7 separate regions of the Homo sapiens genome follow, and all the other regions are linked to region 1. Evidence: promoter capture Hi-C in 16 types of primary human blood cells and fetal thymus (Javierre and others, 2016). All regions are on one chromosome and are shown on one strand. Each heading gives the region's core, a stretch centred on a gene start or on the middle of the fragment in contact. The rest is flanking DNA. Distances are from core to core; before and after follow the strand shown. Region 1 holds the start of DNASE2B (deoxyribonuclease 2 beta). Region 2 holds the start of LOC124904206 (a long non-coding RNA gene). Region 3 overlaps PRKACB (protein kinase cAMP-activated catalytic subunit beta). Region 4 overlaps PRKACB (protein kinase cAMP-activated catalytic subunit beta). Region 5 overlaps PRKACB (protein kinase cAMP-activated catalytic subunit beta). Region 6 overlaps PRKACB (protein kinase cAMP-activated catalytic subunit beta). Region 7 has its middle 37 kb from the start of SAMD13.

Region 1 (3,978 bases), core at 931-3,430:
GCCTGGTGCAGTGGCTCACACCAGTAATCCCAGCACTTTGGGAAGCTGAGGCGGGTAGATCATCTGAGGTCAGGAATTTGAGACCAGCCTGGCCAAAGGTGAAACCCCATCTCTACTAAAAATACAAAAATTAGCCGGGCCTGGTGGTGGGCACCTGTAATCCCAGCTACCCAGGAGGCTGAGGTGGGAGAACCACTTGAACGTGGGAGGTGGAGGTTGCAGTGAGCTGAGATTGCACCACCGCACTCCAGCCTGGGCGACACAGCAAGACTCTGTGTTTACTTTAACAGAGAAGAGTAATCTCTCTCTCTCTCTCTCTCTCTCTCTCTCTCTCTCTCTCTCTCTCTCTCAGTATACATACATACATACATACATACATATATATATATATTTGAGACAATCTCACTCTGTCACCCAGGCAAAAGTGCAGTGGTACCATCATGGCTCACTGCAGCCTCCACTTCCTGGGCTCAAGCAATCCTCCCACCTCAGCCTCCTGAACAGCTGGGACTACAGGCATGTGCCACTATGCCCGACTAATTTTTTTTTTATTGTTTGTAGAGATACATTCTTGCTATGTTGCCCCGGCTGGTCTTGAACTCCCAGGCTCAAGCAATCCTCCTGCCTTAGCCTCCCAAAGTTTTGGGATTACAGGCATAAGCCACTGCGTCCAGCTGATAATTTTTAAAAAAACTTTTAAAAATTGACAAAAAGGTTGGGGTTGTTGAAATCCTTTTTTCTGAACACAGGAAGAAAATATATAAAACAAAATGAGAACAGGCACAGTGGTTCATGCCTGTAATCCCAGCACTTTGGGAGGCCGAGGTGGATGGATTCCCAGGCCGAGGTGGGTACACTCCAGCCTGGGCAACAAGAGCAAAACTTCATCTCAAAATAATAATAATAATAATACCAATGGAGGAATGGGTAAGAAAAATATTTCTTCATTTAACCTGCAGAAAGCTGTGAATCTACCAAATACAGCATAGTCTTGGCCTCAGGGCAGTGAGTTTCAAACTTTAGGGTACACCAGCATCACCAATAAGCTTATTAAAAATATAGATTCTTGAGCCCAACTGGAAGAATTCTGATGTAGCAGGTTTGGAATAAGTCCTAGAATTCTGCCTTTTTTGCAGGCACCACAGGTAATTGGGCAGGTGGTACAGAGTCCTCCTCCCAAAACTCTGTCTTAGGATAGAGACACAAGCCTTCCCCTTTTCTATGAATCCTGAGAATTGTGAACAGTTCTAGTGCAACCACAGAGGTAATCTGATTTACAAGGGTTCAGTTTGGTCTGGATCCTCTGATCTGGAACTATTATAGTTATCATTGTGATTATCAGAGAGACAGATTAGGGGCAGCATTATTTCCAGGCATGATGTAAACTGCTATTTATTATGATGGCAGCTTTAATAATTGATGCAAAAGTATGCATTAAAGAAATTATTTTCATATGTCTATCTACTCCTTCCCTGATTCACAAAGAAATTGGTCTCACCTTTTTATAGTTGTTATGGTAGTGGGCCATTTTATTTTGGTTTTCTACTTCAGATTCAGCTTCGAGAATGAGAAAGCATAGTTTGGGCAAAATAGATGTTTGTAACATTTTTTATTAACCTGAAGAGTGGGTGATCAATATGTTTACCTATTGCATAGCAGCCTGAAGCACCACATTGAGTGGCTAAAACCAGGAAGATGGAGAGAATATGTAAACATCTTTGGTAAAATACAGTTAAATTTACTGTTACTTTGAAGCAACCCTTTGAAGTATCCCTTAGCAACTGGTTCCTTAAGACAGAGATTATTAAGTGACAGATCCTAATTATTACTAAGACATAAGGTTTTATCATTTCTGTTTAATGTACGAACCACCTGCATTTGCTCTCATTCATTGAGTCAAACAGGAGAAGACATGAAATATATTTAACATCTACTTATTAAAATGAAGTCCCCCTGCCCAATGAATTTCATACAACAATGTTCACTCCAAAGAGTGAACTATCTTTCCCTATTTTTCTGCAGAACTTTTTGATGACTTTGCAAACCAGTCAACAATTCAGCACAAAGGCATCCAGAGTCACGCTGGCATGTTGTGACAGAATCGCACAATTACATGGGATCCATCCCACTCTGAAAATGCCCCGAACAGCGAACAGCACAGGTAAATCAAATCAAACGTCAGAGCCAGCACAGCCTGAGAGCGCCTTGAAACTCAGACTCCACAATCTATGGGGAAAGTGTCCTGCTGTGGCATGAAATAAATGAAACAGAAAATGATGGCAAGACTGCTAAGAACATCCTTTGCTTTGCTCTTCCTTGGCCTCTTTGGGGTGCTGGGGGCAGCAACAATTTCATGCAGAAATGAAGAAGGGAAAGCTGTGGACTGGTAGGTAAATGAAATGGAAGGACTGCTGCATGCAAACAGCCTCGGTACAGAGTTGGCCTGGCTCACTGCGAAGTTCCTAAGGGGAATGTCCATTCTCTTTCCTCCCTTTACAAATAAAGGAAGTTAAAGTGTGCAAATCGGCCAAACTCCCAGGCAGGGGTAGGCTTCTGAGTGACGGAGTTTCCCCCTGAAAAAGAGCTGAGCAGCCCCTCTTGGGCCTGATTCACTGTTCTCAGCGGGGCAAGGCTGGTAGCCACAGAAGTGGGATTGAGCTGACAGCTTCTGTGAGCTGGCAATTTCTTTTAATTACATCATGGCTTTTCCTAACAGAACACTTCCAACATCCTTTGAAAGACTGACAGAGTAAAGAAGGCAGATTATTTTTTTCTGAAAATGGAGCATGTGCTGCTCCTTATGAGAAAGAGAAGGGGGACCTGGTCACACACAGCACTGTTTGCCTAACATCGGTTTGTTTGGAAGCAGAGGCAGCTGTTGCCATGATTGGTACGTAGGCCACTGGCCTGTTGTACAGTGTCAAAGACATTAAATGCTGTGTTGCATTATAGTCATGGGTTCTCCTAAAGCTTTAACTACTTTTTCACCCTTTAATTGGGATATTTAGGTTTGCCATAATGGTTGGTGTCAAGCTTTTTGTGTAAACTTCAGGCTACAGAACACAGATATACTCAAGGCAGTAGTCAGTCTTTCCTCAGTTACTGAGCTCAACAGAGGTCTGTGTGGAGTTTTGAAAATATAAATATGAACGAAACATGGTTCCTACCCTCAAGGACCTCACAGTTATGTGGTAAGGGCATAGGTGGAACACTGGGGAACAGAGAGCCCAGAAAACTTCTCTAAGGATGTAATTTTTGAGCTAAGTTTTAAGAACAATTAAGAAGTAGCTGGAAAAAGAAGGGATGTGCAAGAGCATCTCAGGCCAATGAAGGAGCAATGAGGAGGTAGAGAGGCAAGAAGCAACATGGAAATTTGGGAGTTGCAAAGTAGTTTGGTATTGCTGGAACTTCAGGAGAATACAGGAAGATGACCGGAGGTGAGGTTAGAGAGGTGGGGACAGCCAAGGGGTCTGTGTGCTGAGCTACAAGGTTTGAACTTGACATTGAAAGGGAGCTATTGGAGGACTTCACGCAGGGGTGTGAATGGTCAGATTTGCACTTTAGGAAACCCATTGGCAGTACTATGAGGGCTGGATGGATGGGGAGCAGCCTAGAATCACTGAGACCAGGAGCACTTTTGCAGCATTACAGGTGAGAAGAGGTGTAGACCTGAGTTAAAGAAGCGGTCATGGAAATAGAAAGAAGGACATGCTGAGAAGACTTGGTGATGGATGGGCTGCAGCCAGTAGGAGAAAGGGAGATGTTAAGAAATAATTTTAGGTTGGCCAGGCGTGGTGGCTCACGCCTGTAAGCCCAGCACTTTAGGAGGCCTAGGCAGACAGATCACCTGAGGTCAGGAGTTCAAGACCAGCCTGACCAACATGGAGAAACCCCATCTTTACTAAAAATACAAAATTAGCCAGGCATGGTGACGCATGCCTGTAATCCCAGCTACATGGGAGGCTGAGGCAGGAGAAT
Region 2 (3,978 bases), core at 756-3,255, 230 kb after region 1:
AAATTACTTTAGGTAAATGCCATGCTTGACAGTTGGTTTTTAATTTTAAACACAAGCTGCCATTGATTTGCTTTGATTATTCCACGATTTCAATCACTTTCCCAAAACTTTGTCTTCCTTAATTTTCCTGTATCAACCAGATGAAGGTGTTCACAGAGGGATACTCAGAACAGTGTATTAACAATAGCTCTGTCTACGAGTTGGCCGTTAGACACACTTATAAGGGATGCTGATGTTCCAGGGAAGGATCCTGTGCTAACTGATAGGTGCCAAGCGTTCTGGTTTTCACTCTGCCTTACTGGGCCTCTCAAGTTCACAAGTGTTCTCAGAACAAATCCTTCAAGAGCCAATCCTTCAAGATGGATCCCAAGTACCTAACTGGGCCAAAATTTTAAAGAGAGCCAAGTGGCCAGGCCATTTGCTGACTAGAACTCATATACTCGGAGTTTCCCTGGAAACCCCCAACCTCAGTTTAACAGTGGGGCTTTCAGAGCTCACCTAAAGCAGCCAATCAGAGCTCATCTGAAAGAACCAATTAGGGCTCAGTTCTAACCACTAATCAGAATGCAGCTGCATCAACCAAACAGAACTAAGCAAATTTAAAGCCTTCATTTTCATAAAATGGACCTGATTGGCAACCTGAGCATGAACTTTTACTATAAAACCAGGATCCTCCCTTTGTTCTCTGGAAAGTAACTGGTTTACACAGAAAGTTTGTGAACTGTTCCTGAATGAAGTCTTTCTTCCAAATTTCTTTTCAGAGAACTTTTGTTCACAGATCCATGCCAGGGCAGCTATGCTTTTATTCGATTCACCCAATGGGGCACATGCCAGCTAAATTAGGCCCCTCCCCCGAAATCTAGCCCAAGATAATGAAATGTGGAGATTAACTTAAAATTAATTATGGGGCGGGGGCAGGTGTGGTGGCTCACACCTGTAATCCCAGCACTTTGTGGGATCCCAAAGGAGCCCAAGGCAAGCAGATTGCTTGAGCCCAGGAGCTTGAGACCAGCTTGAGCAACATAGTGAAACCCCCTCTCTACAAAGAATTTTTAAAAATTAGTTGGGCATAGTGGTTTGCGCCAGTGATCCCACTGGGGTGGTCCCAGGAAGCTGAGGTGGGAGGATCTCTTGAACCTGGGCTGGTTGAGGTTGCAGTGAGCCAAGATGGCACCACTGCACTACAGCTTGAGTGACAGAATGAGACCATGTCTCAAAACTAAAAATAAAATTAATTATGGGGGTAAAGATATCATCATATCAAACAGTAAACTCCATGAAAAGACTGAAATCAACCTGCTCCCCTGGCAAAACTCTAAATGACAGGCAGGAATAGTGGCGCGGTTTGTATTTTGTGAGCTCTGTCCTTTCTACTTCAAAAAGGATTTCCAGTGACAATAGATATGACTTAAAATACCAAAAGGATCAATATTCTAGAGAGTTGGCACATGAAATAGAGAGGGCTGACTTAAGAGGGCTGATTCTCGCTCCCTAATTAGTCCACACCCTTTGAGTGGGCCAATAGAATACAGCAAAGGTGATGGAATGGACGTGGTTATGTATGTGATGGACATGTCCATGATTGCCTGCACGGGATTGCATACATGAGATGGTAGGATGTGTCTTGTTGGAGTCTCTTGTTGCTGGCTTTGGCAAAGGAAGCAGAAATGCATGGACCACCTCTGTGGACATAGTCAAGTGGCAAGGAATTGCAGGTGACCTCTAGGATCTGAGGGCAGCTCCCCCACCCCGCCCCACAGCATAGCTAGAAATAAACTGAAGCCCTCCATTCTACAGCTGCAAAGAACCGAATTTTGCAAACAACCTAGGTGAGCTTGGAAGCAGGGTCTTTCCCACGGAGCCTCAGTGGAGACCACAGCCTGGGCTGACATCTTGATTGAAGCCTTGTGAGATCCCCCCAAGCAGGGGACCCAGGTAAGCTGTGTACAGGCTGCTGACCCACAGGAACTGTGAAATAATAATGTGTTACTATAAGCCTCCAAGTTTGTGGTAACTTGTTAATGTTGCAATAGAAAAGGAATATAGTGAGCTATGGGGAAATGAAAGCTCCAGAAAAGGTATAGGTGCATTGAGATAAACAGATGGTTAATTAAGTCAACATCACTGTGCTATAGGGAAACACAGTTTTGATTTTATCTTGGGGTCTTTGACTTTCTTCTCTGTGTTCACATAGCATTTTTTAACATGCTACTTCTCACATGGTAACTATTTTAGTGTCTGTTTCACCAAACTAAGTTTCTTAATAATAGCAACCTTAGCATGGAAAAGAGGATGGAATTTAATGACAACAAAAAAAATATTCCTATAAGTACTACTAGAAAATAAGTTGCTTTGGCTTAATGGAACTAAAGTGTTTTCCCTTTAAATATTCTTTCTGGGTCCACTCGTAGAGCTGTGAAGTCCATTACGAAAGCCTACGTACCTGCGGCTATTGAGGCCTTGAAATGTGGCTGGTCTGAACTGAGATGTGCTGTAAGTATAAAATATACACTGGATTTCAAAGATTGAGTATGAAAAAAATGTAAAATCAGTTGGTAATTTTACATTGATTATAGTTTGAAATGATAATAGTTTAGATAGATTGGGTTAGATAAAACCTATTATTAAAATGAATTCCACCTGTTTAATTTTACCTTTTTTAACATGGCTCATAAAAAGTGGAAACTTACCTATGTTGACAGTGTTGCGTGTCTAACAACAGGTGATCTAAATGGTCGGGTCCTGGCTGAGCCACAACTACAGTCACTTGGGCATTGGGACCCAGCATTTTCCATGGCAGGTCACCATCATGCCAGAAGAGCTGTTTCTGAAGCGAAGAAGCATCAATTCAATACAAATCCAGCAACAGCTGTCCATTCAACATCCCAACCTACATTTTTCTCTCTCAACCTTACATATGTTCTACCATGGTTTAGGTGGATACCAGAGTCCTGATCTTTCAGGTGTATTTCTGATCTTAAATATCAATTTTGCCCTATCATTCTGATGAAATACACATCTGATGAAATTTTTGAATAAGAACATATATGCTTACTTTTCTATGTCGTAGAGCATATTGGGTTTTTAATAATCTATAAATGAGTTAATTCTATTTTTTCTCTCTTTTTAGCTCCAGGCATTTTTTTAAAGTTTTAATTTTAAAAAGGCACAGAGAAACCTAGATTTTGGAGGCCCAATTCATATTGCATTTCTTGCAGAAAGCCTTTTTATACTAGTATAACCAGGAGATATTACACTCAAGCTGCTGTGAACAATTAACTTTCTGGCAGGTTACACATGACCATTATCACCGTCCTCTAAGGACCATAATGTCAAAAACAGTGGACTTCGGCCGCCAGCAGAAACTTGTTCTAGATATAACAGCTGCCCAGCACTACCGATTATGAGACACACCAATCAGAGCGTGGTTACTAAACAGCTGGGTACTGCTGGTGGTCTCTCCCCAGGCTCTCCAGGGAGCACTACAGGACTTCCCCACAGGCCCACATTCACCCAACATGGCCTTGAGCTGCCGAGGGACACCACCAATGATGGCAGTACAGACTCATCATTAGGAGTTTGCCAGGGGCCAGTTTTAGTTCTTCTCTTCCTAGGATAATTCACCCATTATCTAGAACTAACCTGATTAAAATAATGCTAGTGCCTCTGTCCATTTTCTTGATATTAATAATGGTAGGGATGAATAAACCTTCATGTCAATTAAATGTAGAAAACAGAAATGAATTCTTCCTGAGGTCCAGCTTAGTCATGTGTATGACAGTAAAAGATTTGCCTTCTAATAAGGGCAATATATTGAGTCCTACAATGTATCTCAACTCTGAAACTAATTTTCAATTAGGATATACTTCCCAATTTCCTGAAAAGCATGCATATGTCAGAAAGGTTCCCAGTATAAAAGTGTATTTTCCCAGATGGCTCATGATGGACCACATGCTCAGCTTGGAGAGAAAGAGGAAA
Region 3 (3,978 bases), core at 1,031-3,530, 230 kb before region 1:
ATACCACATGGATGGCATCTGACACTGTTTGTAATGCTGAATTTAATGGAAGTTTACAAATAAGTTATTCTATGATTCTCCTTTAAAAATGCAGATATACATATATGTATATAATATTATTCTCTTCCATAACACAGAATGTTTAAATGGTTAACATTTGTGCTGCAGTATAGCTTTCTGGCTCATGAAAAATGAAAGCTATCAGCGATCTCGGCAATAAGATTCATCGCCAATAGTCACTAGCAACAGCACACAGCATTTTAATATCAGTGAGGTCCACAGCTAGCAGTAAGAGCTGGTGTAATTGAAAGACGTTTAGGTGCAATCATTCTGCTGTTTGCTCCTTGCCAGGTTCAACATGGGATTGTGTGAGTATTTGAAGAAAACAGCAATTTTTTCATATCTTTGAAAGATGTAAAAAGCGTAGATTAGTGCTTAAATTTAAGAAATCTGGTAATTTATAATCATGTGGCTCTAAAATAAAAAGGTATTTTATTTGTCTGGTGGATTAAAGCTTTAGAAAAGCTACGCCTTGGATACAAGTGAACCGATAATTCTGGTCTAATGTTGCCGTGGTAACAACTCATGCTGATATAATTGAGAACATCTTATACATCCTGGTTCGAACATTTTCTCCCTGCCATTTTGAGTTGTTCTAGTGGTATATGAAGGAGGCTGGGATAACTAGCTTGAAAGAAATTCAGTCTAGTTATAGACATCTTTGGCATTAATCTGATGTTTACTAGTGATATCTCATGCTAGGCAGTTATGCTTTGCTTCTAGGGGCTTCTCTTTTTAAAACAAAAGAAAGCTCTTTTCGTTTTCTGTGTGCTGCATGCTCCAGTGTGTGTGTTTACACCATCGGTTCTTCTCCCTCTAGAGATTAGCATAACTCCCTTTGCTGTTGGATTGTTATTTTGAGCAATATGTTTTGGAAAGGTTGGTTTTCATCATGAGTGGTAAGTATGCTCTCTGAGACTCTGCAGCTGTTTATTTAAAAAATATATTTATAAGAGGAAAAAATATTTTTAAAGGGACAGTTATAAAGCCACAGCTACTGTGAATTATATTTTGTGGTGACGCTTTTGTACTTAGGCATTATAGTAAATTGCCTTCAAAAACCAGTAAGAACTGTAAACAATTAATGGCACTATTAATAATCAATACCAATAATCAGTTTCTAATTTTCTTTATGGTTCGATTTATTGTATTTGTTGGGCACTGTTATTAATTGTGTTATAAATTAGTAAGTAGACTAACCATAAGAGAGGATTTTCTTTTAGTATCTGATCCTGAAGATAATTAGTTTAACTTTCCTTTGATTAGCTTTGTCATTCCTAATGCTAATTTTTATTAGATTATTTTTATTAGATTTTTTAAATAGTAATTTTGAAAATAAGATGCTGCCAGAATTTTGTTGATGTCTTGGTTGCTTTTACCTACAATTTATTGAGAAATAAGGATTTAATGATGAAATAATTAGAGCATTTTGGTTTTGTAGGGTTTGTTAAAATTTTTAATAAACAGTTTTTGGGGGAAATAATTTTTTAGAATAAGTACACTTGTGACAACTAGTCTTTTTTGTTATAATGTGATTTATTTTTTCTAAATATTTCCAAAACTGTTTTTTTGAAAAAATATACTACAGTATGTACTGCAGTTTATCATAGGGTAAAAGCTGTCACTTCAAGCCAAACCTGCAGCTAAAAATAGATATCCTGTTGTTAGAGTGAAAAACATTTGCTTAGAGCATAATTCATTAGCATCTTTTGCTTAAATAAGATGCTTGGAAGTTAACCTTTGATTCAGATATTTTTAAGAGAAGTAGAATATGGTTTCTCTGATAACATAACAGTCCTATAATTTGCATTTATAAGATTTGGAATTGGAATTTAGAAACTGAAAGGTGGATTTTTGCTGTATAATGATAGAATTCAAAATTGACGAACCTTTTCTTTCATAACTGGAGATCACCTCATTATAACCAATAAATATTCTTTATCCTGCTACAGTACAATATAAACCTCTTAAACACTGTTATATATTTGTTTATAGAATAATATTAGATATTAAAGGGACATTTTAACATGCAAAATACTAAGAATTAACTGGATTGTTATTTTCCTGTTACTGAAATAGATCTGTTTTAAATAATCTGCTGTTTTAAATTTGAACGAATATTACAAAAACAACTTAACATTCCTTAGGATTTCTATGGATATCAAACTGAATATACCTGGTTGTCATACATATATTTATTTGAATCAGGCCAATGCATATTTTCTCTTTGAAAATTTGGCATATAATCTAGAATCTTTAGGTAACCACCATGGTGTTCTGGAGGTTTTACAACAGGATGGATTGGATTTAGCTGAAGGAAAATGTTATTGCTTCACTATTGCTTTATTTTTCTTTAAAAAGCTATGCATTGTAGATAGCATTTGATATATTTGATCATATTGGCTTTCCCTTCTAGCCATTTTATACCACAAATAATCATAGTAATCACAACTAGGTGTTCTGACTTTGTCGAGAATGCCCAATTTCAACTGATTTTAATCATGTCATAAATGGTTAAGTGTCCTAGCCATTTCAACTTGGAAAATTACAAGAGAAGTGTGGTTTTATTTGTAAAAATAAGCAAATGCTAGGCCTTTTAATCTAAGTCTGTAACTACACATGTGATATTTATGTGTACATGGTACTTTTCTCGTTATAAGACTATTCCTTTTATCCTTTGCCAATTAAATGTTGGTTTTCTCTGAGAATCTATCTTTTGGCCTTCTTTTGATGCTACATTTTCTCCAAAAAATCTCATCCATGCCTACATCTTCAGTCATTACCTGAACGTTCAGTTCAAAAGTGGATTTTCTTTTATCATCCCTAAATCTGCTCCATTTTCATTGACTCTGATATCTGTTAATGATCTCACTGCCCATACAGGAAGTGAAAACAGAAACCTTGGTCATTTCTAACTTGTTTCTTACCCTCAGACATGTACTCAGTCATTAAGTTCTATTGATTCTACATCAAAAATCACTCAATATTCTCCAGTCTTACTGACACTGGGATGGCTTCTAGATCTCTTCTCAATCCTATTATAATAACTGCATTACTGGTCTCCCAGCTTCCAGTTTTATATCCTTCCAGGCCATTTTCCACACTGAAAATTTTAAAATGCAAATATGCCCATTTTTTAAACTAACATGAAAACTTTCAGTTACTCCCTATTGCCTTTAAAATAAAAGTTAAACTCCTTATTAGGTCACATGCAATCAATGACTTACCTTTTTGGTTTTGTTTGCAAAATCTCTCTCACAAATTTTGATCTAGCCATACTATATTACATATAATTCCTTGCTACCTTTCCATATTTATAGTCTTTATCATAAAAATTTAGAGAACCAGTCATTACCTCCGACACTGACCCTGTGGAATTAGGTGATTTCTCTGTACTCCCAAAGCAAACTTACAAACTACAACAATTATTGTATTATATTGAAATTATAAATTTGTATGTCACTTTCTAATCTCTAAATGTTGAACTCAAGTCAAGGACAGTGCCTTATTCATTGTATGTTTCTAGTAGTCACCCCAGTACCCCAAACACAGCAAGGTACCCAATAAATACTTATAGAATTAATGATAAACTAAATATAATTCATTTTTACATACTTGAACAGTTCCCTTACATTGCCAGTGAAAAATACCAGTGTGGGTTTTGACTTTTTTTGGTTCAGAAAAATACAATAACCATAGTATTTACTTGTTCCTTTATCAACTTTGTAGGATGAAGTCATATAAAATGCTTAAGAAACTAAATTGTACCAGTCAGTACCTTTATCTTTCTAGTATTTAAAAAATTGGTTATATGTGAAAAGAGCCTTCACTTTCTAAATGTTTTTCTTACTCATAACTCTTTTTGTGAAGTTTTTGCCCTTGTTAAGCAAACAAGGTCTATAAAGAAATACTAAAGGA
Region 4 (3,978 bases), core at 579-3,078, 210 kb before region 1:
CACTATTCAAATGTCTGAAAAATTGTACCACATTTATTATTTAAATTGGTCACTTTTGAGCTCTTTGGAATGATACTGGCATCTCTCTGCAATATTGAATCATATGAAACATTTTAATCTTTTTTCTCCTTTATTCTTTAAATTAAATGAAGACCTATGTATTTAAAATATTAAAACCATTAATCTTTTATACATAAAATGTAAATATTCTTATTAACTTTTTAAATTGTTTTTTACCTTTGTTATTCTTTTGCATATATTATAACGTTACTTCATTGCCTGAGTATTTAATTGTTTGAGAACTAGATGTTCTCTGCAAGAAAAGGAAGAGCAAAAGTCCCAGACTAGTTTGTGGCAAAAATAACTAGGAGGGGAAAAATATGAGTGTCTCTGTATAGAAAAGCTAGAGCATGTTCCATTTATTCTTTATTTCTCAAGGTTATTAATCTGTCAGAGAGATTTTAAATTTTTCTAATTCAGCATTATATAATATTAAAATAATTTTGACCTAAGTTGAATAATTGTATTTCCTTTTTATTTGTTCATAGGATAATTCTAATTTATACATGGTTATGGAATATGTCCCTGGGGGTGAAATGTTTTCACATCTAAGAAGAATTGGAAGGTTCAGGTAACTAATGGTTTTGCTTTCTTCAAATCTTTATATGCTTGTGTTGTTTAACCAGATTTTTAAGTTGATGCCAATGCCAAAAACTTATTTTGTTTGATTAATATTTTGGCCATATGAAGCATTAGGTGGAAACAAAGAGGCCACATCATACACAAGTTTTAATATAAAGAATATAAAAATTTAATATAAAAAAAGGACTTTGAAGCCAATTTAAATGTTATACTACTGCTAGATATTGTGAGGGTCCACTACTTGAAGAGTTTTCAGAAAATGGAAAAATTAATTGAATTTTAAAATATCAATATTTATTAAACAAAGATTAATAATACAACTCCAGGACAGAGGATTGTTTTAAGGATGAAGATGGAAAATAAATATATAGAGAAATAATAATAATAGTATTATGGTAATAAGATTATAAAAGTTTGTTTTTCACAAATTTAATTCTCCTTAAAGTTCTTGCTAAGTTTAGTTTTTAAAATATACACATAATTTAACGGGAGTTTGTACCTCATCAGGTTATGACTAATAAGATCTCAGAGTTATTAAAATAGGTTATAGAATCTGATGGTTTTACCTGTACTTAATAGTTTATAAGCTTCTACCGTTCATTAATAATCACTAATAGAATAAAGCTAAAATAAAAAACAGGTACAGCTTCATTCAGTATAGTGTGTTGAAGTCAAAATAAAAATGTAGAGACAAATCTCTAAATTCAACATTTTATTGAGGAAGCAAGAATTGCAGTTTGAGGCATATACACAGACTAGGTGGTCTTCAATGTGTCTAGAAAACAAAGAAAAGGTTGGAGGTTTTATAAAAAGAAATTTTATGTTTATTTGTTTTGAAACAAAGTTTACTAGCACTAGTTAAGTTTTGGGGAGCTGGCAAGCTCTGATTGGTGAGTGATGGTGGTGGGTCAGACTCGTCTAAGAGTCGCAGTAGGTTGTCTCAGTAGCTGTTAGAGAAAACTGGTTTCAGGTTACAATAGGCAGTTTCAGCAACTAGACTTGTGGAAAATATAATTTTTTTGTTTGTTTTTGGTTTTTTTTTTGAGACTGAGTCTCCCTCTGTTGCCCAGGCTGGAGTACAGCGGCACCATTTCGACTTACTGCAACCTCTGCCTCCTGGGTTCCAGTGATTCTCTTGCCTCAGCCACCCGAGTAGCTGGGACTAGAGGTGTCCGCCACCACATCCGGCTAATTTTTCTATTTTTGGTAGACACAGGTTTTCACCGTGTTGGCCAGGCTGGTCTCGAACTCCTGATCTCAAGTGATCCACCCTCCTTGGCCTCCCAAAGTGCTGGGATTACAGGTGTGAGCTACCACACCTGGCCTTAATTCTTGGAGCAGGTGCTGTGTGCCCTGAGTGCGTTATTCCCTGGCCCCTCGACTCTGATTTAGTTAGGTATGATGAGAATGACTAATTTGTATAATCAGCTTTCACATTTTTCCCTTTTGATCAAGATCTTTCTCTGAAAGCATTGCTTGTCAACCATCTTGAAGTTAGGCTTAATTATTCCTTGGTGCTCGGATGGACTTGTTCTGGTTGTCTCTGTCCCACATATGAGAGAAGTTATCTGTTGGGGGGTGTCTATGTAGGGACCTGGGCCACATTCAAGTAACGAGGAGGCCAGAAGGAAAATTTTTCTCAAAGTAGATTTTTGTCTGGAGTCCAGCCAGCATCGAGTTCCCACTTATCACTTCCATAGGTATTAGCAGTCATCTTTAAGTGTTGGGCTAACGTTATTCTGTTGGGACAGCTGCCTTTACAAAGATTAGATAGGCACTAAGAACAAAGCTTACAAATGATAGTACAAAAAAATTAACAATATAGTAAAATGTATTTGTGCAGTGCTTTTGAACTAAAGCCCAGGCCTAAGGGCAAAAAACTAAAGAAATCAAAGGACCAGGGGAAACTGGTGAGACCTGCTATAGCCATTGACTAACATTTTATGACTGGGTTGAACTAAAGCAGAGAATGCCAAACTTTGCAAGAGGGACCACCAGCACAAATTAAACAAAAAATTGTGTTAAGGATATTGTCGATGTTGTGACTAGATGAACTGAAAGAATTTCTTAAGTCAGGCTTTGTCAATGGCTTTAGCAGGTCTCACCAGTACCTATAGCAGTTACTGATTGTGAATTTTAAATTACAATATTATTTGGTTAAGTGAAAAAGCAGGCATTAAGAGGGGTAAGAGTTTCATTACAATATGGAGTCTTGTTCTAGTGTTTTGAGAAAAGCTGTTCACACCATGGAAAACATCAACTTTCTTGGCTTTGTTTACAGTGTAAATGTCTCTGGCTATGGCTTTGGGCAGTTTGATGAACTTTCTGTGTGGCCCATACATCAGGCATGAGACTTGTTTCTTAAAATTTATATAGTTTCAGCTAACAGGACTTCAGGAACAGAGCGGTTCTCATTTTAGTAATTTTATGGAAGAAAGTTCGATTGGAGGAACCTAGAAGAATTTAGGACCTTGTCTAGTCTATAGGTAGATAACAAGACTCAAAAATAATGTACAGACTTACAGTCTAATAACAGGTATATTATAGTTATTCTTTAGAAAAAACTTTTTTCTCTACATTGATTACATAGGAATCTTGGATTTAAAAACCTCTTGAGGCAAGGAAGCCGAACCAAGGCAGTCTTAGATTTTCCTTACAGTCTTGAGGTTCCTGGTCCTGCCAGGAAGTAACAGTTTTTATTTACTCATTGTAATGCTGAGAAACCCTTGAAGTCAGGCATTTTATGCACTTTTTAAATACGATAGTTCAGTTAGAGCCTTAGTAATATAATCAGTGTTTTCATATTCTGCTATAAAGAGAGAGCAGATTTTTACTGGACCTGTGCAAATAGTCATATTCCCATAAAAGTACTTACAACTAATTTTTGAATTAAGGAGAAAAAAAGCAAATGCTTTTATCTTTTTTTACAAAAATATACTTTACCAAATTGCTATAAATTATAAATAGCTAAAGAGATAAGTTTTTTTAAATCTGGAAACCAAAATATTTAAGAACTAACAATGTAACAATGTTTTAAATGAAAGTTATGAAAACATTATTTTTATCAATTATTTAATTTCATGTAATTTTTGTTCTGCTTGATCTTAATTAGTATTTTCATATACTCATCTTTTTTTATTAGGGTTCTGGAAATTTTTATTTAGTCTATTGATCTTAAAGTTATTAAAAACCTGTATTTAAGGGTACTTGTTGGGGTCTTTTCTATGAATCTGATTGTAAATAATTTTGAGAATTCAAAATATTAACTCTGGATGACAAAAATCTAGAATAGCCATGGGTAAAAATCTGATGAAAGTTTACAATTAACAAGTAAAA
Region 5 (3,978 bases), core at 542-3,041, 190 kb before region 1:
TTATAACCTCTAATTTGCTTTCAAGAGTGTTTTGTTTAGGGTCAGTCATTTGCTGTTGCCTTAGCTCAGACCTCGGATCTTTTTTTAAAAGACCATTGTCAATTCAATAGAAATGAGCTTGAATTTCCTACCATGCAGCAATGAAAGAATAGGCTTTTAAACATTCCCAGAAGGAGACCTTCTATACATTAATGACAAAATATATGGGAAGGGATATTTTGCTTATTTTCCCTTCTTTCTATTTCTACATGTGGTACTGCTTTGTCTTTTCTTTTCTTTCCCACATAGTCCCATTTAGAATATGATCAGGAAATAGAGCATCAATCTTTATCACATTAGCCTGAGATGTTATAGAGTTGAGGTTTTTTTGTTTTATTTTTTATTTGTTTGCTTTGTATTTTGTGACCTTCTTAGGCAGAGATAAGCCGGAAGGAGATAGTAGAGGGAAGGTCTTTATTTCTTTGTATCTCAGCCATATTCAAGCTCTACATTTAGTGTGAAAGCTTACCCTTGGCATCTATCAACTTACAATTTCCATTGTTAACTATTCACAAGGTACCCTGAATGTCTCTAATGTGGTAATTTATTTTTTTTGCCAACACTCAAATTTAAATCATAGATGCTGCACAGCTGGGCTGTAGCAACAAGACATTTGCCAATAGAATTAGTCTATCCAATCACCTAGAACATACATTTCAGCACAGTATTGTTCCCTATCTCATAGTACATATGCACTCTACCTGGGTCATGAGATTTTCCCTTGTATTTTGCCACGTTTTATGTAGAAAGTTTTATTTATTATCAGTATTCACAAATTAGGAGACTGACTAAAGAATTTATACTCCAACTATGTCAAAGGTAAAAAAATAAATACCTCTTACAGATAAATAAACCTAGCTAGGTGTTGAATGCTGTGCACTGATAAAGGCAATACAGAAAAGCAGAATGCAGTACTTATTTAAACAAGTATCAGTATCACTGCTGTTCTTCTTACATTTGTAGATCTCTGGCTTCAGACTTCTTATCTTTGTAATTGTTTTCTCCCAGCAGAACTTTTGATATGAACAAAACAAAACTTTGAGAAAAATTAACAGACAAGGCAGTGATTTATTTTTGAAGAATTTGAGAAGTGTAGACTCTCAAGAGGACTAAAGGTCATATGAAGAATGATGAGAGAACCAAAATACATTAAAATCACAAATGGAAGAAGAATATTTTACTAATACAAAAACTAAGAATGTAAATGTTATAATAATTGTTTCAAATCATTTAATTGACAGTAATTATAAAGTTCTTGAATCTTTACTATATTACTTTTATTTATATTCATATAAGAAATCCAATTTTCTAACAAGGATACTGTCATAACTAAATTTACATTTATTAAGAAAAACTGCTTTAGTTAAAATTAATGTGTCTTCATTTTTATGCATTGGCCTCGATTTGCCAATCATTCTCTATTGGTTAAATTTTATATTCAGCTGTTTATGAATATATATTCATTTTATATCAAACTTTAAAATTTTGTATCTAATAATCAGCATATATTCTAAAATCATAACAGTCTAAATCCTGGGCACCTTAGAAGAATGACACCAGAAAACCTTATTATATCACAATATTCTGTTTTCCCCTTCATTTATTTAGAAATATGACAGGATATTTGGTGTACTTTTGTTTTTTAACTAAAAGTACCAGATTATCTCTCCCCATGTGGGATATAAAATTATCCCCATCTCTTACTCCCTTTACTCATCTAAAGTAGAAGTCATGAAAGTGGAATTTTTGCCATTAAAAGGCTCTGTATTATGTGAAGTTAGATTGTATTAACCATTTCCCAATAAATCATCTGTTTCAAAACTCAAATTCAAACTAGAATGTGTCTCTATTCACATTGCAAAAATATTATTGTCTCTCTGGTTAGTGGCTAAAAGCCAAATTGGAAACTAACTAGTTTTTTAAATTTTTTAAATTGTGCAAATTATTAAAAATCCAATTTGGTCTTATATTTGTGGATCCTTATATTTATATTTGCATTTGAACTTTTAATGGTTTTAATGATATATCATTTAAGAATATGCTTTTCATTCAGAATTGTTTTTGTTGATTTTAGAAGCATATTATTTTATGAAACAGCATCTTATATTGATTATATCCACCATTCTGAAGTCACGTTATAAAGATTATAGGTATCAATGACTTATCAAAGTTAAATTTATTAATTAAGTGATAAATTCACTAAAGTACATATATATGAATATTAGATTGTAAAATACTTTCTCTATTACAATATTTTAACTCAAGCTGGTATTTTTAAATGCACACAAAGATGATCAATCAACTTGTTAGATTCTCTCCTACACATATTTTGCCTTTAAAAAAACAGAGGAGGTGGTATTTAAATGTCACATTATTCATGCAATGTTAAGGTTTGAGTCTACAAATTCATAGTTGAAAGAAAAGATTTATGATTCCTGCATTAACTATGCCTCATCCTAACAATACATATGCTGAGTTTCTGTATGTAGTCTTTAAATTTCATGTCTCAGTGTCATGTACTCCATGACAAGAATCAGTTATGGTCTCTATAGCACCTTTGTCTGGCTGCGTTACCCATGGAAATATAGAAAGTTTATATTGCAGTCAAAAATTATACTTGCAAATAAGGTACTCAAGTAACAGCTACTATGGAAACCATAACTTTAGAGCCCTTGGCTTATGTAATTTAAAAAAATTCTTAGCTTCAACATATCTAATGTAAATATTGTTCCACTCCTAATGAGTAACAATATATAAGGAGACATGCAACATAGAGAAGTATAAACATAAGTATATACTGAATGATCAAAGAGTTGGTTAATTTTTCCTGAAGGGAAATTCAATATTTACATGAAGGGTAATTGATTATCAGCCCAATTGCTATTCCTTTCTGTCTCAGGAGTCCCCAAGACTGTCTCCAGGTTTGATGATTCACCAGGAGGACTCAACAAGATTCAGCATACAGTGGTACTTGAGGCTAAGATTTATTACAACAAAAGGGTACAAAGTGAAGATAGCAAAAGTCCAGAAGACACCAGGCACAAGCTTTCAAGAGTCCTCTCCCAGGGCATTCACAAGGGATGCACATAATTCCTTCAGCAACAAGCTGTGACAAGCGTGAAATTTTATCTACCAGCAACACTCATTAAATACTCAATGCCCAAAGTTTTCATTGGGGGTTGGTCACATATGCACCCTCTGCCTAGCACATGCCAAAATCCCAGCCTCCCAGAACAAAAGTAGTTGTTCAGAATAAACTATGTTGTTTGTACCAACAGTGTAGGCACAGTGAGCCACTCTAATCCTTTAGGGAAAGTTTCATGTTGGTATAAGGGCACTGGTACTATTCAAGTTGCCAGACATCTCTCAAGGGCCAAACTTGTAAGCAGTTCTTTCTAAGGGTAGCAGTCTCAGGCCTACTATGTTAAGTCTTTTCTACACACATTCGGTTTCCTAAATAACATACACATATGCAGATATTCCACTATACTTTTTCTAAGATACTATTGTTAATGCTTTTGGGGAAATTACAATGTCATTTACTATTTTGCTATGGCCATAGTTAAAGAGACTTAGAAGTATTCAGAAATCATTTTCATAAAACACAAAAGCAGTTTTACTCTTTTCATAAAACCCAGGGCCAGTTTTAAACACTTCACTGTGGCTATTTAAAATTCTTATTAATACCTTCTTTCTGACAGCTCTTGTGGTCCTATGAGCAAATAATTGCAAAACTGGCTTCTTATGTGAGAGCAGGGGGAGGGAGAATGGGGTGGATCATAATCCTCTGCAACCTTGTAGACTCATTATATCTACCACTGTTTCTGCATAGGTAAGGGAACAGATTAGAGAGCCCACAGATGCAGTACCAATATTTATAAATATTTTTAATGTCTTAGCTCTTTCTTTTCACATATAGAATCCAGGCTGATTAAAGAT
Region 6 (3,978 bases), core at 765-3,264, 160 kb before region 1:
GAAGTTGTTTCCAGCTAATTATTGTGGTGTACTATATTTGTGAGCCTAGGGTAGGGGCACTGCTGCAACTTCTGCTTTCATCCCATGCCTCATCAATGAGGAAAGGGAACAAAGTGTATAAAACTGCCACAATTGTATTTTAATTTTGAGGTATGATATTTTCAGATATTTCATAATTTCTAACCTCTGTTCTCTCAGTAAACAGAATGTCTGATCGATCATGCAGATACAATGTTGGTATTTGAGAGGTTAGTTTTTTTCCTACACTTTTTTTTGCCAACTGACTTAACAACATTGCTGTCAGGTGGAAATTTCAAGCACTTTTGCACATTTAGTTCAGTGTTTGTTGAGAATCCATGGCTTAACCCACTTGTTTTGCTATTTTTTTCTTTGCTTTTAATTTTCCCCATCTGATTTTATCTCTGCGTTTCAGTGACCTACCTTAAAACAACACACGAGAAGAGTTAAACTGGGTTCATTTTAATGATCAATTTACCTGCATATAAAATTTATTTTTAATCAAGCTGATCTTAATGTATATAATCATTCTATTTGCTTTATTATCGGTGCAGGTAGGTCATTAACACCACTTCTTTTCATCTGTACCACACCCTGGTGAAACCTTTGAAGACATAAAAAAAACCTGTCTGAGATGTTCTTTCTACCAATCTATATGTCTTTCGGTTATCAAGTGTTTCTGCATGGTAATGTCATGTAAATGCTGATATTGATTTCACTGGTCCATCTATATTTAAAACGTGCAAGAAAAAAATAAAATACTCTGCTCTAGCAAGTTTTGTGTAACAAAGGCATATCGTCATGTTAATAAATTTAAAACATCATTCGTATAAAATATTTTAATTTTCTTGTATTTCATTTAGACCCAAGAACATGCTGACCAATGTGTTCTATATGTAAACTACAAATTCTATGGTAGCTTTGTTGTATATTATTGTAAAATTATTTTAATAAGTCATGGGGATGACAATTTGATTATTACAATTTAGTTTTCAGTAATCAAAAAGATTTCTATGAATTCTAAAAAATATTTTTTTCTATGAAATTACTAGTGCCCAGCTGTAGAATCTACCTTAGGTAGATGATCCCTAGACATACGTTGGTTTTGAGGGCTATTCAGCCATTCCATTTTACTCTCTATTTAAAGGCCGTGAGCAAGCTTGTCATGAGCAAATATGTCAAGGGAGTCAATTTCTGACCAATCAAGTACACTAAATTAGAATATTTTTAAAGTATGTAACATTCCCAGTTTCAGCCACAATTTAGCCAAGAATAAGATAAAAACTTGAATAAGAAGTAAGTAGCATAAATCAGTATTTAACCTAAAATTACATATTTGAAACAGAAGATATTATGTTATGCTCAGTAAATAATTAAGAGATGGCATTGTGTAAGAAGGAGCCCTAGACTGAAAGTCAAGACATCTGAATTTCAGGCTGGAAAACTATCAGTATGATCTCAGCCTCAGTTCTCTTGTCTGTAAAATGGAAGAACTGGATTAGGCAGTTTGTAAGATTCCTCCTAACTTTCACAGTCGATGACAAGATTGTCTTTTTATCTGATATTTTGAAGGGTATATTGCTTTGAAGTAAGTCTCAATAAGGCAATATATTTTAGGGCATCTTTCTTCTTATCTCTGACAGTGTTCTTAAAATTATTTGAATATCATAAGAGCCTTGGTGTCTGTCCTAATTCCTTTCTCACTCACCGATGCTGAATACCCAGTTGAATCAAACTGTCAACCTACCAAAAACGATATTGTGGCTTATGGGTATTGCTGTCTCATTCTTGGTATATTCTTGTGTTAACTGCCCATTGGCCTGAAAATACTCATTGTAAGCCTGAAAAAAAAAATCTTTCCCACTGTTTTTTCTGCTTGTTGTAAGAATCAAATGAAATAATGTATGTGAAAGCACCTTGTAAACTGTAACCTATCAATGTAAAATGTTAAGGTGTGTTGTTATTTCATTAATTACTTCTTTGTTTAGAATGGAATTTCCTATGCACTACTGTAGCTAGGAAATGCTGAAAACAACTGTGTTTTTTAATTAATCAATAACTGCAAAATTAAAGTACCTTCAATGGATAAGACAATTGATTGAGTCGTGAATTCTACTTGGTGCCCTCATCTCCTGATTTATTTTCCGCTGATACAAGAGATGCTTATAGATTCCTAGTTTTTATGTGTTTGGGTTGATTTCTGGGTGGTGGGAGCAGAGCACATTGGGGAGGAATATATCCGCCAGTCTACTCACACTGGATGTTTACTAAGAAACTGCTAGATTCATTTAATAGTTTCTCAAAAGTGTTTCTACTTCTTTCTCATTTCTCATATTGGTTCAGATTACTGCTAACATAATGTTCTAAATATTCATATTTAAAGGATTTGATTCTTCAAGAGCACTCATCCTTCTATTGTAACAATGAAATATTAATTTCTAATTTTTTCTTCAGGAGTGTTTTTGAGCTTCACATTACCTCTTTTCATTTTAGACAGGTTAATTAGTGTGTATTTCCATAGTTGTCTTTTACCTCAAGAAATAATCATTTCTTTAGGTAATTATTTTAATGGCTTGCCATTTTGTATGATTGTTCTTGCAAACATTTCTATTTATGCATTTTATAACATGGAGCTTACTATTTTTATACCAGTGCTCGCTTCATTTTATCATTATCAGGGCTTAATATAAATGCAGTTTTCTCATTTCCTTGTAAAACTAATTACAAAAATCTAGGTATGTCTTTACTGAAGAACTATCATCATTTGAAATCTATTTAGCTGTAAATTTTCTCTTGTGCACAAATACTGGATGTGAAGTTAAGTACTTTTCATTTAAGCTTTCCTGAAGATTTTCCATATGCTTATTTAATAGCCTTTATGCCTGTTGTTATGACCTGGATTGTGAACTGTGAACAAAATTCATACTGAAATTCTAACCACTAGTACCTCAGCATGTGATTGTTTTAGGAGGTAAGGCCTTTGAAGAGGTAATTAAAGTAAAATGAGGTCATATGGGAAGACTTCATCCAAGATGACTGATGTCCTCATAAGAAGCACACAGACAAAGGGAGGACCACGTAAAGACATAGGAAGAAGATGACCATCTATAGGGCAAGGACAGAGGCCTCCAAAGAAGCTGACTTTGCCAACATCTTGACTTGGGACTTCTAGACTCAAGAATTGTGAAAAATAAATTTCAGTTGTTTAAGCTGCCCAGTCTGTGATACTTCATCATGGCAGCCATAACAAACTATAATACACCCGCTGAGCTAAGTATTCTCATGGTGAAAGACTTGCATTGATTTCCCTTCATATGCTTTATACGTGGGCAAAACTGAATTTACCACAGGCAAAAAAAAAAATCAGTGTGGTCACAAACCTCAGTGCACCTGCTATCTTGTTTCTATTCTTCCTGGAATACAAGCAGGAAGTAGGAAACAGTAGCCACTGAGATACTGGGAGTAAGGGAAGGCATGAGTAACTCAAACCACTACTACTTCCAGGTCAGACTTACCCATGGAAGGATAGCCCTTCTCTCAAAGCAGTGCTAATATAACATAAAATTAAGCACACCAGATTCATTGAGTTTACAGTCTCTGCTCATCTTTTAGTGGTGATACTAACAATGAAATGGCCAAAAGGAAAGTGGGAGTGCAAATAAAGGGTTAATGAGAATACCCCAGCTGGTTCTTCCTCTCCTGATTATCAGAGGTTAGTAATGCTCACAGCAAATGATGACCTTAATGTATTAGTTTTCTACTGCTGCTCTAACAAGTCTCCACAAACTTAGTAGCTTAAAACAACATAAATTTATTTTCTTACAGTTCAGGAGTTCTAACAACCAAAATAAGCCACACTGGGTTAAAATCAGGGTGTTGGCAAGCATGCATTTCTTTCTGTAGGCTCTAGGGAAGAAGCCATTTCCACATCTCTTCCACCTTCTAGAGGCCACCTGCTTT
Region 7 (3,978 bases), core at 836-3,335, 130 kb before region 1:
GGGAAGACGAAAAAGTTCTGGAGGTGGATGGTGGTGATGGTTGCACAATAATGTGAAATGTATACTTAAAAATGGTGAAAATGGTAAATTTTATGTGGCGTATATTTTATAATAATAAATAATTGACTTTCCCTTTTTTTTCTTGAAAAAGATAGAATAGGACTATGCAGTGACATTGGGTTTGACAATGTTGTTTCCATGACAACAAAGGAGGCATATGAACAAGGGCTCACATGAGCCCACATCTAAGCAGTAGATTACTATGTTATCCAAGAATAGATTACAATTCCACCCATAAGCAGTCAAATCCCAGAAGGATTAAAAGGACCTGTGCAGGCCAGAGACAGTGGCTCGTGCCTGTAATCCCAGCACTTTGGGAGGCCAAGGTAGGTGGATCACCTGAGCTCAGGAGTTCAACATGGAGAACACCATCTCTACTAAAATACAAAAATTAGCCAGGTATTGTGACACACGCCTGTAATCCCAGCTACTCCGGAGGCTGAGGCAGGAGAATCACTTGAACCTGGGAGGCAGAGGTTGCAGTGAGCTGAGATCGTGCCACTGCACTGCAGCCTGGGCGACAGAGTGAGACTCTGCCAAAAAAAGGAAAAAGAAAAGACCTGTGCAGTAAAGGGGAATACACATGACAAAGCTTGAGACTTCAATGTTATTTCTGGGGATGTGGGCTCCCCCACAAGGCTCAGAGGACTGGTAACTGGCCGGGTGCACACCTGGACCACACTGTATATCCTTGCATCCATGCGGTACATCATAACATCTGGATCACAGGTATAGCACACAGATATAGACAGGTAAGACCTCATATTTTCTGAGCAGGGAACACCCTCCTCCATGGGGGTGCTTTGTTTGGGCCTCGCTGCTCAGGTAGAACTCCACTTATCATACATGCTATGTCTCACTTGGGACCCAGGTCACCTGGAGAGCCAGAAATTCCTCCAACCAGAGCAAGAAACCCAGGAGCTGGCTGAGATCTCCCTGAAACACAGAGGTGGGCCTCACAGCAACAGGGCCAGGAGCCCACTGCAGCAGTGCTCGCAGGGGCATATTGCAGGAGCGGTCTTGGACTAAGCAGGACACGTCAGTTACCAAGAACGGTGTCTGAAAGAAGCATCAGATAAAAGAATAGGAGACAAACAGGCAAGGGATATGGAAGAAGGTAAAAGGATAAGGAAGAAGGAAGAAGTCTATTAGTTGGAATAGAGTTACTAAATGGGAAGAACTAATGAAATGATAAATTGGAGGGAGAAGATAAGAGTTAAACTAGAGGAAGTAGAGTCCAAATGAGGTGCTGGGGTTCCTATGGCTGCTTCTACGTGGACCTCAGAATCACAGAGCACCAGCCTGAGTATCCTGCCATCCGTGGGTGTGGGGTGCTTCCTCTCCCTGGGCCAGAGATGTCCCTAACAAGGGGGCGAATTCCAGACACATCACAGATTCCACTCTGAAATACACTTAGGAAATTCAGTTATCTGAAAACCTCTCAGACAATATCCATTTCACTAATATCATAAAATGACTTCTTCACAAGCAAAGTTAAAAATAGTAGAATTAAAAAGACAATTACAGAAAAGTTGGACAAGTTGTGCAAATAGAAAATTATTCCGAAGGTCTTGTCAAACCAATATTTGCTAAGGAGCTAATCCTAACGTTTAGTAGGTGCTGGCCATTCAGAACCTTGAAGGTTTCAGTGATTATGGCAGTGGAAGAATTTCAGACTGAAGGCTGAATTTGTCCACAAACTGACTTCCTTCTACCCCTGAGCTGATTTCTTATGGCTAACTATTAATTAATAGAATATGTGGTAATAATGTGCTGGCATGTCATATAAATCTTCATATATTCATCATTTGACTTTATTATTGTGGGCCTCCTGCGACGAAGATTCATTTCCAGTTAGGCAGTTTTTCCACAGTCTTTGCTATCCTTAGCCCATTTGCAGGAAGTTGTATAATATGTTTTTGTGATGTTACTACAAACAAGTATATTGACAGGCACCTAAGCATCTTATTAATTATAAGCCTAGACTACAGAAGTTTCATAATTTTATTTCTTTCATTTAATGTGCATTTCACTGAATGGAAAAGTTAAAGAAATAAAAAACATTATGTGTTAAAATTAGTTGAGAAAGAAAACTCAGTCGATGCATTTTTTAAGTTAACTTTAATGAAGTGCTAATGCCTTGAAACGTAAAGCCAGAACCAGAAATTCTGTTATGGCCCACAGGATACATGCAATAGGAAGAGTTGTGTCCCAAAAGTTGAATAACGCCTCATCCCAAACTTAGGACTCCCCCAAATACTGAGCTGCTTCATTTACCTAATCAACAAATACCTAAGGAAACATTAGATGGTTCCTGGATAAATCAACATAGAAAGATATCAGTGAAAGCCAGAAAATGAGTACCGATTGGGCCAGGCGCGGTGGCTCACGCCTGTAAAGCACTTTGGGAGACGGAGGTGGGTGGATCACCCGAGGTCAGGAGTTCGAGACCAGCCTGGCCAACATGGTGAAACCCTGCCTCTACTAAAAATACAAAAACAGCTGGGCATGGTGGTGCGTGCTTGTAATCCCAGCTACTCGGGAGGAGAATCACTTGAACCTGGATTCAAGTGAGGCGAGGTCGCGCCACTGCACTCCAGCCTGGGCGACAGAGTGAGACTCTGTCTAAAAAAAATAAAAGAAAGAAACAAAATGAGTACTGATTAGACAGCTAATATGTGCAGGGATTCCCAAGGCTCTGAGGATAGTGGGGTGGAGATGAGGAGGAAGGATGGTGGGCAGGAGGAGTGAGTCAGGGATGGAGCTGACTCCACAATGGACAGAGATGAAGCAAGGAGTTCTCTTGTGTCCAAAGTTATCTGGTGCAGCCAGTGGCTGAGCCTACTGTGCTCATCACTCACGTCCTCACTTCTCTAGTTTTAGGAAGCTCTGTTGCTTGGAAACGCACATAAAATGTGAAGTGGGAGTCTTGCAAACCAACCCACTATGCCCTGTTTTTATTACCTTTACAGCTTTTCAAGGTGAAAGTCTACATTTAGCCTCATCTTTTGCTTTCTCTGGGAAATTCTAGACAACTGCAGAGAAGCTGTAAAGCTGCTCTTGCCTCAGTGGGACCCTGTGCTTTCATACTCTGACCTACAGGAAGTCTGCAGTCCAGAGCCTGCATCTTCTTTAGGACAGTGAATAATCTGGGAGCCATTTATGAAGCGTGCATGACTATTATTCCCTTTATCGTCTCTTAAATTCCACAGTAGAACCTCGGATATGGGAACTTTTTTAAGAAATAGAGGTGTGTATATATATATATATATATATATATATATATATATATATATATAGTAATGACGGGTAGCTATTTCTAGACCAGTCTATCTGCTGTTGTGGGAACCTTCCCTAAAAAAAAAGACAGGATCTGTCGACATCTTTCATCTCTCCCCTCCCTTTTATCCCTTCTAGTGAAAAATGCTGCTGCGGTAAAACTCCCTTTGCATCAATCTTAAGCTTCAAAAGCCATCTTGCTAATGCAAGATGCTGGCATTTTTCTGTGACAAGAAAATGAACAATTTGCTAATTTTTTAAGTGAATGAAAGCATTTCCTCACATTTCTTCAGAAATAGCAAAAACAAGAAGAGAGTTTTAGGAAAAACACTGAAAACATTGCCAATATGTAGACATCTATATTTACCAGCAAGAGGGCATTTGACCCTTTTTTCACACCACTGCATATGTGGATTCATGACCTTGTTCCTGCTTTCTATTTGCTATCTCTCACACATCAGATCATAAACCATCACTCCACCCAAACCATGCTGGAAAGTTTCTCTAATTCTATAAAGCATACGATAGGTGGCTGCTCAATTAAAGGAATAGGATCTAGGCAGGCGTTTCCAAACTTTTGGCTTCCTTGGGCCACAGTGGAAGAAAAATTGTCTTGGGCCACACGTAAAATACACTAAC

The links. The method cuts DNA at HindIII sites, captures the fragments that hold promoters and counts their contacts. A CHiCAGO score of 5 or more calls a contact.
Region 2: a fragment that was not itself captured here is called in contact with the fragment with the promoter of DNASE2B in region 1 in 1 of 17 cell types (neutrophils); the score reaches 7.3 in neutrophils.
Region 3: a contact is called between a fragment that was not itself captured here and the fragment with the promoter of DNASE2B in region 1, in 3 of 17 cell types (M0 macrophages, M2 macrophages and M1 macrophages). The highest score is 7.0, in M0 macrophages.
Region 4: a contact is called between a fragment that was not itself captured here and the fragment with the promoter of DNASE2B in region 1, in 9 of 17 cell types (M2 macrophages, M0 macrophages, M1 macrophages and 6 more). The highest score is 13.0, in M2 macrophages.
Region 5: a contact is called between a fragment that was not itself captured here and the fragment with the promoter of DNASE2B in region 1, in 4 of 17 cell types (M2 macrophages, M0 macrophages, M1 macrophages and 1 more). The highest score is 9.1, in M2 macrophages.
Region 6: a fragment that was not itself captured here is called in contact with the fragment with the promoter of DNASE2B in region 1 in 5 of 17 cell types (M0 macrophages, M1 macrophages, M2 macrophages and 2 more); the score reaches 9.8 in M0 macrophages.
Region 7: a fragment that was not itself captured here is called in contact with the fragment with the promoter of DNASE2B in region 1 in 2 of 17 cell types (M2 macrophages and M0 macrophages); the score reaches 5.9 in M2 macrophages.

Annotation. Positions count from the first base shown.
Region 1 is chr1:84,396,304-84,400,281 of GRCh38, forward strand. DNASE2B (deoxyribonuclease 2 beta) reads left to right here and starts at 2,181. Exons shown (of 6, transcript NM_021233.3): 1 at 2,181-2,386. The coding sequence starts at 2,262. The HindIII fragment of the contact is 1,924 bases long and covers 1,045-2,968 here.
Region 2 is chr1:84,628,920-84,632,897 of GRCh38, forward strand. It overlaps LINC01555 (long intergenic non-protein coding RNA 1555), which reads right to left. Exons shown (of 3, transcript NR_027379.1): 2 at 2,691-2,827; 3 at 1-1,968. It overlaps LOC124904206 (a long non-coding RNA gene), which reads left to right and starts at 1,557. Exons shown (of 5, transcript XR_007066196.1): 1 at 1,557-1,715; 2 at 1,798-1,935; 3 at 2,412-2,493. The HindIII fragment of the contact is 7,254 bases long and covers 1-3,978 here.
Region 3 is chr1:84,164,055-84,168,032 of GRCh38, forward strand. The region is part of intron 1 of PRKACB (protein kinase cAMP-activated catalytic subunit beta); the gene reads left to right. Among named protein-coding and RNA genes, the nearest start is that of PRKACB, 22 kb to the left of the region's middle. RefSeq lists a silencer at 2,952-3,001. The HindIII fragment of the contact is 3,536 bases long and covers 513-3,978 here.
Region 4 is chr1:84,184,552-84,188,529 of GRCh38, forward strand. PRKACB (protein kinase cAMP-activated catalytic subunit beta) reads left to right here. Exons shown (of 10, transcript NM_182948.4): 5 at 549-631. Among named protein-coding and RNA genes, the nearest start is that of PRKACB, 42 kb to the left of the region's middle. The HindIII fragment of the contact is 1,202 bases long and covers 1,228-2,429 here.
Region 5 is chr1:84,203,432-84,207,409 of GRCh38, forward strand. The region is part of intron 8 of PRKACB (protein kinase cAMP-activated catalytic subunit beta); the gene reads left to right. Among named protein-coding and RNA genes, the nearest start is that of PRKACB, 61 kb to the left of the region's middle. The HindIII fragment of the contact is 2,581 bases long and covers 502-3,082 here.
Region 6 is chr1:84,236,387-84,240,364 of GRCh38, forward strand. PRKACB (protein kinase cAMP-activated catalytic subunit beta) reads left to right here. Exons shown (of 10, transcript NM_182948.4): 10 at 1-2,112. Among named protein-coding and RNA genes, the nearest start is that of SAMD13, 63 kb to the right of the region's middle. The HindIII fragment of the contact is 1,679 bases long and covers 1,176-2,854 here.
Region 7 is chr1:84,262,252-84,266,229 of GRCh38, forward strand. No RefSeq gene overlaps it. Among named protein-coding and RNA genes, the nearest start is that of SAMD13, 37 kb to the right of the region's middle. The HindIII fragment of the contact is 2,870 bases long and covers 651-3,520 here.